Linked DNA regions of Homo sapiens: all the other regions are linked to region 3. The links are contacts of gene promoters, found by promoter capture Hi-C in blood cells and fetal thymus (Javierre and others, 2016). All regions are on one chromosome and are shown on one strand. Each heading gives the region's core, a stretch centred on a gene start or on the middle of the fragment in contact. The rest is flanking DNA. Distances are from core to core; before and after follow the strand shown. Region 1 overlaps ST6GALNAC3 (ST6 N-acetylgalactosaminide alpha-2,6-sialyltransferase 3). Region 2 overlaps ST6GALNAC3 (ST6 N-acetylgalactosaminide alpha-2,6-sialyltransferase 3). Region 3 holds the start of ZZZ3 (zinc finger ZZ-type containing 3).

What was found. Contacts are between HindIII fragments. The CHiCAGO score rates a contact against its expected background, and 5 or more counts as called.
Region 1: a contact is called between a fragment that was not itself captured here and the fragment with the promoter of ZZZ3 in region 3, in 1 of 17 cell types (total CD4 T cells). The highest score is 5.7, in total CD4 T cells.
Region 2: a contact is called between a fragment that was not itself captured here and the fragment with the promoter of ZZZ3 in region 3, in 1 of 17 cell types (non-activated CD4 T cells). The highest score is 5.8, in non-activated CD4 T cells.

Annotation. Positions count from the first base shown.
Region 1 is chr1:76,289,392-76,292,091 of GRCh38, reverse strand. The region is part of intron 1 of ST6GALNAC3 (ST6 N-acetylgalactosaminide alpha-2,6-sialyltransferase 3); the gene reads right to left. Among named protein-coding and RNA genes, the nearest start is that of ST6GALNAC3, 220 kb to the right of the region's middle. The HindIII fragment of the contact is 855 bases long and covers 909-1,763 here.
Region 2 is chr1:76,264,858-76,267,557 of GRCh38, reverse strand. The region is part of intron 1 of ST6GALNAC3 (ST6 N-acetylgalactosaminide alpha-2,6-sialyltransferase 3); the gene reads right to left. Among named protein-coding and RNA genes, the nearest start is that of ST6GALNAC3, 190 kb to the right of the region's middle. The HindIII fragment of the contact is 842 bases long and covers 856-1,697 here.
Region 3 is chr1:77,681,327-77,684,026 of GRCh38, reverse strand. It overlaps ZZZ3 (zinc finger ZZ-type containing 3), which reads left to right and starts at 1,369. Exons shown (of 15, transcript NM_015534.6): 1 at 1,369-1,442. RefSeq lists enhancers at 114-213, 1-416, 1,234-1,313 and silencers at 364-423, 434-853. The HindIII fragment of the contact is 10,120 bases long and covers 1-2,700 here.

The DNA of each region.
Region 1 (2,700 bases), core at 87-2,586, 1.4 Mb after region 3:
TTATCTTGGAGAGCTCTCAAAATGGTGCTATAAGATTTCCTCAGTGAGGCTGCTAAGTCTTTTGGCCATAAATCTCCCCCAGTAACACGGCTTATTCAATTTAAGGCTGCAAGCCAAAGAGAGATTAATGAGATGAGTTGTCCACCAGTCAAGGAAAGAACACAAGATCTATCCTATCTTATTTCATCTTCTGGTTTAATCATTATAAGTGTTATGTAATGTGACATTCACACATTACTGGAGATGTTCAAGGAACAAATTGCACATCACTAATCAGCAGATCATTTTTCATTTTCTTGCAGAATGTAAAATTAATGATGCCCTCCCTTTTTTTTTATTAAATTCCTAAAAAACAAGTTATATTAAATAACAAATTGAACATAGGAACAATAAGCATTTTTTTCTTTTGCAATTTCAATGCTTTTCTCTACACTAACCAATCCCAGCAGTGTTAGAAAAGAGGCTTAAGGAGCTACTACTTATTTTGTTTCGGTTCGTTAGAACTCCGACAAGCAGCCTGCTCTTTCGGGATCCAAAATGTTCTTTTCCCACTTGATTCTTTCATGTCTGTTATTCCTCTTTAACTTGGTGATTGTAACATACTTGGATGCGATTTCCAATCTGCTAATTGGGTCCTGGGGAGTGTCCCGGCTGGGCTGGGGCAGCGAGGCCACATTGAATTGGCCGGGCCTCATGCTCTCTGCCAGGAGGTGCTCCGGCAGGAATCCCTCTGACAGAGGAGCTGCAGGATGCCCCTTCGGCTGGCGTGGCTGATGGAGGTGGGCACCCTGCCTGCAGGCACTGCAGCCTCAATCAGCCCGCCCCTCCAACGTGCTGGGGATTTTAATTAAGAAACCCTTTCGATATGCCGTTGTAAAATACTGAAGAAGGCTCATCAAAAAGAAGCTTGGATTCTCTGAAATTTAAACATTTAGTAGGCCCCAGGAACCACTTTATTTTCAAGTTATGGCGGTCACTTAGAACATCCATCTCCTCCTTTCCTGCTCAAAACAAGCCGGTTTCATAGGTTATTCTTCTCCATCTCCTTTAGTACCTACTTCCTTAATAATTCAAGTGTTACTTCCTCCTGACATTTCTCAGTTGGACCTTTCAAATTTTAGCTGTGGTTAGATAACACGGTGCTGCTTTGGCTCAACAGCTCGCTCGGTAAATAGGTCAGGACAGGTATGTGTGGATCCCCTCCTCCCCTGTTTTATTCACACACAGCTGTCCACCTCCTGAAAGCTGCCTTCCTTCAGGGACACACAGCAGCTGATCCATCATCTACAGTGAGAAAAGGAGCAGCGACATGTAGGGCCACCCCAGGGATGTTACTGCTAGGAAATCAGTTGCCAAATGCAAATGTCCCAGTATGAGATAAGGGTGGGAGGTAGCTGTGGAATGAGGGAAGAAAATCCATCAAACCTGGATTTAAAACAAAAAAGACCTGGCTTCTGGTCCTGGACATGCTATTCACTGCCTGTGTCACCTCTCTGAGCCTCAGTCTCCTTTGCTGTAAAGATAATATCTGCCTCAATGAGCAGCTGTAGACACGTACCCACATACCCAAAGAGGTGGCATTCGTAGCTGTGGTTAAAAAAATCAAAACAGAAACAATATCAGTATTTACCAGAAAGTAAGATGGCTAAATAAATAATGAGGTATTCATTCCATGGGCATGCAGTCATTGAAAGGAGTGAGGTAGATCTGAATGTTTTATTATGGAACCATCTCCAAGACATATTATGATTTTAAAAAAAGCTTGAAGTAGAAAATTACATATAGTTTGATATCCTTAGTGTTAAAGGATCTACACAGCAATAGTGTACTTTTTAAAATAGTCTTACCTGAGCATAAATGAATAGAAACAAGTGCTGGACACACACAGTGCTAACAGGGGTTAATCCTGTGGAGGGAGCAGGGAACTGGAACCAGATGTGGCTCATGGGGCATTTTTACTTTTATCAGTAATACTTCAATTTCTTACAAAGGAATGCATTTCTTTACTACATGTGTAACTAAAAACTATTTCAAAAGAGAAAGAGTGCTTGTGAGATAATGAGTGTGAAACTACTCTGAAAAACAGAAAATCCTGGGTAGATGTGAACTTTTACTATTCACTCTGCCCAGGTCACACCACATCTATCACAGCCATTTCCACCTCAGGCAAGGCAGGCAAAGCAACTCATTCCCTCCTCCCTCTGTTCCCTTCATGACTAGCTTCAAGAACCCTGTGGAAGGGGGGTTGGGCTTCCACTGGTTCCCTCCCTGTGCACATAACCAAGCAGTGAATGTGATGGCCTTAAGGCGGAGCCTACATCAGGCCCTAGGTAAAAAGCCTGTTGATTAAACCCTCTATTGGTTACGGGCCTCCAAGTACAACATGTAAACCTCTTTTGGGATTCCTTCTATCAATGCTTCATCAGGTCCAACTTAATGGGGTTGGTGCAACCCAGGGGTTTCTGGACCACTTTTTTCCTCTCCACTCATCCCTCTTACCCCTCAGCCCCACAAGAAGCCTCACTAAGCAAATGTTTTCCTAATGAAACCATTCCTGAATTTAAACTTTTTGCCCCCTTGAGGGTGCTATCACCCCTGCTGGGAACCCATGATGTAAGCTAACTATTCCATACTATGTGCCAGGTGCTTCTTAAAGCATGGTGCCTGAATTTAATCTTTAAAAACATGAGTAATCGGAAG
Region 2 (2,700 bases), core at 27-2,526, 1.4 Mb after region 3:
ATGAAAATATATTTATCAAAAAAATCTGTATTTCATTTTCAGATAGACTCTGAAGAAAACGTGGTAAAAAAATGCAGTGAGAGTGGTTGCAGATGCTCTGTTCTGGTAAAGAGAAAGAAAGAGCAAAGTAGAGGAGAAAGAAAATAAAGTAAGGAAGGTAGTTCTGCCTCTTTTGACTTTGGACAGTGGCAGGACAGAGCTCGAGTGGGCTGGGAAGGGAGGTGACAGAGGAAGCAACTTAGCAAGACCATAGGTGAAGTAGATTAGTGACAAAGTCCACGAAGCTTAGCAGGGGCTAGACAGAGGAGACAGAGAGTTCCATGAGGCAAGGGGTCATGATCAAGGGGTTGTATATTGAGATTCATAATTGCGGATCAAAAGTTCCGGGACCTGAGTCAAAGAGGTCAGGATGTAGGAAAGAGAGCGCAAATTGGCTGTCAAGCCCTACGGCATTTCTGGTCTGGAAGGGAGGTGGGATACTCCTGAGAAAGTGGGCACTTGGCCAAGGTTGGGAAGCTGGCTGGAGCAGAGGGACTTCACATTGGCATTGCCTGCTTCTAGTGTTTTCACTCCATTTACCAGGCTGCCTCTCAACAAGACCCGAGCATATCCGCATATCCTTTTACTGGATATAACCCAAAGAAAATATTTCTCTGGGCCACTTAGGGCTGGTCCTACAGAACAGCTGGGCCTGAGATTGTGGGTGGCCACAGAGCCTAACACATGGCTGGAGAGACAAATGAGATGAGAGTTCAGGTAATTCCCAACATTCTGGATTGTCTCTGCCCCAAGAGGGACCAAAGAGAGCACAGTCGGTGGCTGGCATAATCACAGAAAGGGTGGCAAGTGGAAGCTTAGATGGGTGGCTAAAATCAAGATGGAGCAGGTAGATGAGAATTGGAGTTAGCACCTACTAAGCCAATTGTTAGACAAGATCCTAAGAGCAACTGTTGCTCTTTTATCCCTAGAGATCAAGTTCCATCCTCTAGGCTTTAGAGAATGTTACTTTCATAGGTAGAAAACCACATCTGCTGTTCCAGAAGCCTTTATTCCACATCTGATGATAAGAACAGTAAATCTGAATCTGAGCCAGGGATGCTGGGTCTGGTCCCAATAAAATAAAGGCTGCAGGTTGCCCTTCCTCTGAGACAACTCCCTTTGAGACCCAACACCTTTCTAGGGCAAGGGCGAGAGTTTCGGCAGTAAAGACTTGGAAGTATCTACAGACCTACTTGATAGAGTCATCCTTATGCTGAAGACAGCATACCCTGGGTAATAGAGCCCTGGGCTCCCAGGAAAAGGAGTTACTCACTTAGTGCTCTGCCTCCATCTCTACCTCGTTTATCACTGTGTTCCCTGCAGCTATGGGAAAGTTTGCCAAAGAGAAGGTGCCCAATAACATACGGTGAATTAATAAATAAATTCAACAACATCCAGTTTTCTGTTGCTACCTATTTCCAGTTAAGTGCCCCCTGAACACTATAATTTCTTTCTCTGAAAAACGTAGGAAATTTGACCATAACCCAGAAATTTATGAAGAATGTGTTATACAGCCCATTTGCTTTGAACCTACAGCATGGCACTTCTAACTATAATCCTCAGACCATCTACCTGTGCAGCTGCAGATTCCTAGGTCCTAACCAGTCCTATGCACCAAAATCCTTAGGGAGCGGGAATGAGCACAAGAATCTGAAGCTTTCACAAGCAATGTAGGTGATACCTATGCACACAACTATTTGAGAAACACAGAGACTTACATTTATGAAAAAATACTACGTTCTAGACCCTAAGCTTGAGATTTTATATATTCATTTAATCCTTACAATTACTCTATGAGGCAAGTATTACTTTCCTTATTTTCTAAGTACGGAAACTGATTCAAACAAGGTTACGCAGTCAATAAGCAGCTGAGCCAGGGTCCATTCTGTGATAAATAAAAGATTCTGAGTCTCATTTTCAGTCTTTTAAAAAATTTTTGATAAAAGTGCATGTTTGTAATAAAGAGCTGAGGGGAAATATGGTTGCATTTGGTGGGTACGAAGCTTCTTACAGCCTATCAAATTGAGAGAATTGGGGAGAGAAAGACATGGAGGGGAAGGGAAATAGCAACATGAACAAGCAAATGCAATGTTTTTGCTCTGAAGTGAAATGCTACAGTTGAATTTTGTAGTCTTGATTTAAAATGATTAGCAATGCTGGGCTACTAGTCTATAACATGCTTAGGGCATGACCTTGTACCAATTATCACCACCCCATGTAACAATCATGACCTGCCTACAGATGACCTGGATAGCTGATAAAATCACAGTTGGTCTCAAAAAATTTAATTGTGCCATAAAAAGAGGCATGATTCATTGAAGCTGCCGTGTCAAACTTTAGCTGTGCTTACCCTAGCCAAAATGACTTTTTTTCTCTTCAAGATATGTACTACCGTCAAATATCACCTGTATAAGTACTCCTGGAGCAAAATGACCTTGAGTTTTATTGTGATGTGGTAAAGGTCTCTTGATGTTCCTGAAACAGTTAACTTGCTTCATATAATCAGGAATAGGTAACTTACTTTTTTGTAATCCAGAGGAATAAAGGCCTTAAAAGTACCACTGTCTTATCAAGAAAAATCTCTAGCTAATATAATCTAGTTAAAAAAAAAAAAAAAAGAGCACTAGAGTTACAGTCAAGCATCTTGAAGTATGGCTTTAT
Region 3 (2,700 bases), core at 120-2,619:
CTTTTTTTGGATACAGTGGTCTGGGCAGCCCTCTGAGAAGGGACCTGAAATATGCATCGAACATCGAGGAGTTAAAAAAAATCTGGAGGAAATGTTCTGCCAGAGAAATCGGCAAGCACAAAGGCCCGAAGTGGTTCGAGCCTGCGTGCTGTGGTACAAGCCAGAGGTGAACGAGGCGAGGCAGAAGCACGATCATAAATACATGTATGGATGTTCTCCTGGCTTGAGACCACAGTGCTAAGGGAGGTGGGGTTTACAAATCTCTCAGGAGGCCACAAAGGGCAGGATGAAGCCGATTTCCAATGGCGGAGCTACGAGGACGCCTTTCCTCTGCTAGGGCCAGGTTGGACGGTTGCAAGGGATGGACTGCAACCCGCCCTCGGAAGACCAAACTTCGCCCAGGGGCAGGGACTGGCCGGGGAGGGCCTCGGCGGCGCCCGACCCGCGGGCGCTGCACGGGCCGCGGTTACCAGCAGGCGGTGTAGTGAGCGCGCCTGCAGCAGCAGCAACAGCAGCAGCAGCGGTCGCCGCCGCCGCCGCCGCCCGCCAGTCCCAACGAGGAGAAAGGAGGGGACCGGAAGGAGCCGCTGGTGCTGCGGGAAGTGGCAGGAGCGGGAGGCGGGGACCCACCTGGAAGCGCCGCGGCGCCGCTATCGAGCTTCCTGCAGCGGTGGCCACCCGAGCAAGTGCCGTGGCGGGGGCGGAGAGCGGCCACGGCGGCGGCGCCTCCCCAAGTGGCCCGTTGCGTCCGACCCCGCGTGAAAGGTGAGCAAGAGCTCGGGACACGTGGTGAGGGCCAGACACGGGGGAGGGAGAATGAAGGGGGAGGGAATGGGGGTGGGAAACGATCGGCTTGGGACCCGGATTTGGAGCCAAGTACCGGGAGGGGGTGGGCTGGAGGCGACGACTGCGACGGCTGCGACGGCTGCGACGGCGAAGCCCCCACGTGGGGCGGGGGTGCGCGCGCACGTGTGCGCGGGCGAAAGGGGGGGCGGGGAGGGCTTTTGGGAGGGCGTCGGGAGCGCGCTCGCTCAGTAGCGGCCCACGTGACGGGCACGCCGAAAATGTTTCCACGTGACAGGGAGGCTGCCTGGGGCAGCGCACTGCGCTCTGTTTATGTAGTATAATCGTGGTAATCGGAGGTTTTTAAGATTTCTGCTTTTCTGTACAAGGGGAAAGGAGGAGACGTATAAAGCGGAAAGACTTCCTACTGTCTCAGTGTTTTAAATGTTCACTACTCCGTTAGTGAAGTGCTTTTTAAGTTCCGAAATACTGATTTTTTTCTGTACCGCCATGTTGGGTCTAGTGGAAGCTCGCGAGATGCGAGTGGGTTTGTATCGCGAGATCTCTCGATTCTCGCGGGACCTCGTTGGCAGAGCAGTTGTCCTGGATGGCGGAGCCTTGGGTTCCGGGGGCCTGGGACCTGCAACTCTTTCTACAAGGCAAGTCGTTAGGGAGGGGCCCGGGGCGAGTGCCTCTTGGTGCCGGGATACGTGCTGCATCAGCTTCCCATAGTCTTGAAGGGAATACAGTAACCCCATTGAGGCAACACTGCCCTCCCCATCCCCCTGCGGGCGCTCCACCACCTGCAAAAGCATATGCACCCCTCAGCCAGGTCCTTCTCCCCACGCAGTGATAGTTCCACCCTGTCCCACTCACTGGAAGTCCGGGAGCCGTGCTCGCGCAGACCTGATGATTCCATTGGATACCGTTCCTCTTACTTTAAGATGTTCTTGTCAGTTTTTCCCTTCTTGCCATTTTCTAAAGTATTCCAGACCGGTTAACTATTGTGTCGCGTTTTCTGCTGCAGTACCTGACTCCAGTCTCCTGAAACAGAACTCCTCCCATCTATTTTCTCTGGGTGTCATTTACTCATCACCCTGACTTCGTATTTTCAGTAACTTTTGGCAGTATTTGGAGGGCCCATTATGTCTCTGACAACACCTGTGGTCAGAATAAAATCCTGCTTTTCATCATTTTGTACGTGCCTATTAACTCAGTTATCGGTAGGGTTTTAATTACTACTGTGTTACTGAGGTTGCCATCTTTGAAGTTTAGGGATGGTTGTTTTAGGTTATATATTTAAGGTAACAGACTGTTTCATGTGATTTTTTTTTTTTTTTTTTTGAGACGGAGTCTCGCTCTTGTCGCCTAGGCTGGAGTGTAGTGGGGCGATCTCGGCTCATTGCAACCTCCGCCTCCCGGGTTCAAGCGATTCTCCTGCCTCAGCCTCTCGAGTATCGAGTAGCTGGGATTACAGTCGCGCTTCACCACGCCCGGCTAATTTTTGTGTTTTTAGTAGAGACGGGGTTTCACCATGTTGGCCAGGCTGGTCTCAAACTCCTGACCTCAAGTGATCCACCTGCCTTGGCCTCTCAAAGTGCTGGGATTTCAGCACTGTACAGGCGTGAGCCACCGCGCCCGGCCTCAGGTCAACTTTTTAGTAAAGAGCAAACTCATAAATTTTGGCATCAGAGTTTGAGCTTTATTTTTCTTAAATGAGTTTGAAATCAATTTAATATTTCTCTCCAATTCCCTAATGTCTCAGAAGTGAATTTACAGTATACCTTTGTTTTTTCGTATTCTTAAGTAGTATTTGGATTTTATTTAGTAGTTGCAGTACTAAATAAGGAGTGGGGAGTTAATTACAAAACGAATCAGGTGACTAGTTAATTTATTCATAGTTTGTTTTTTAAAACT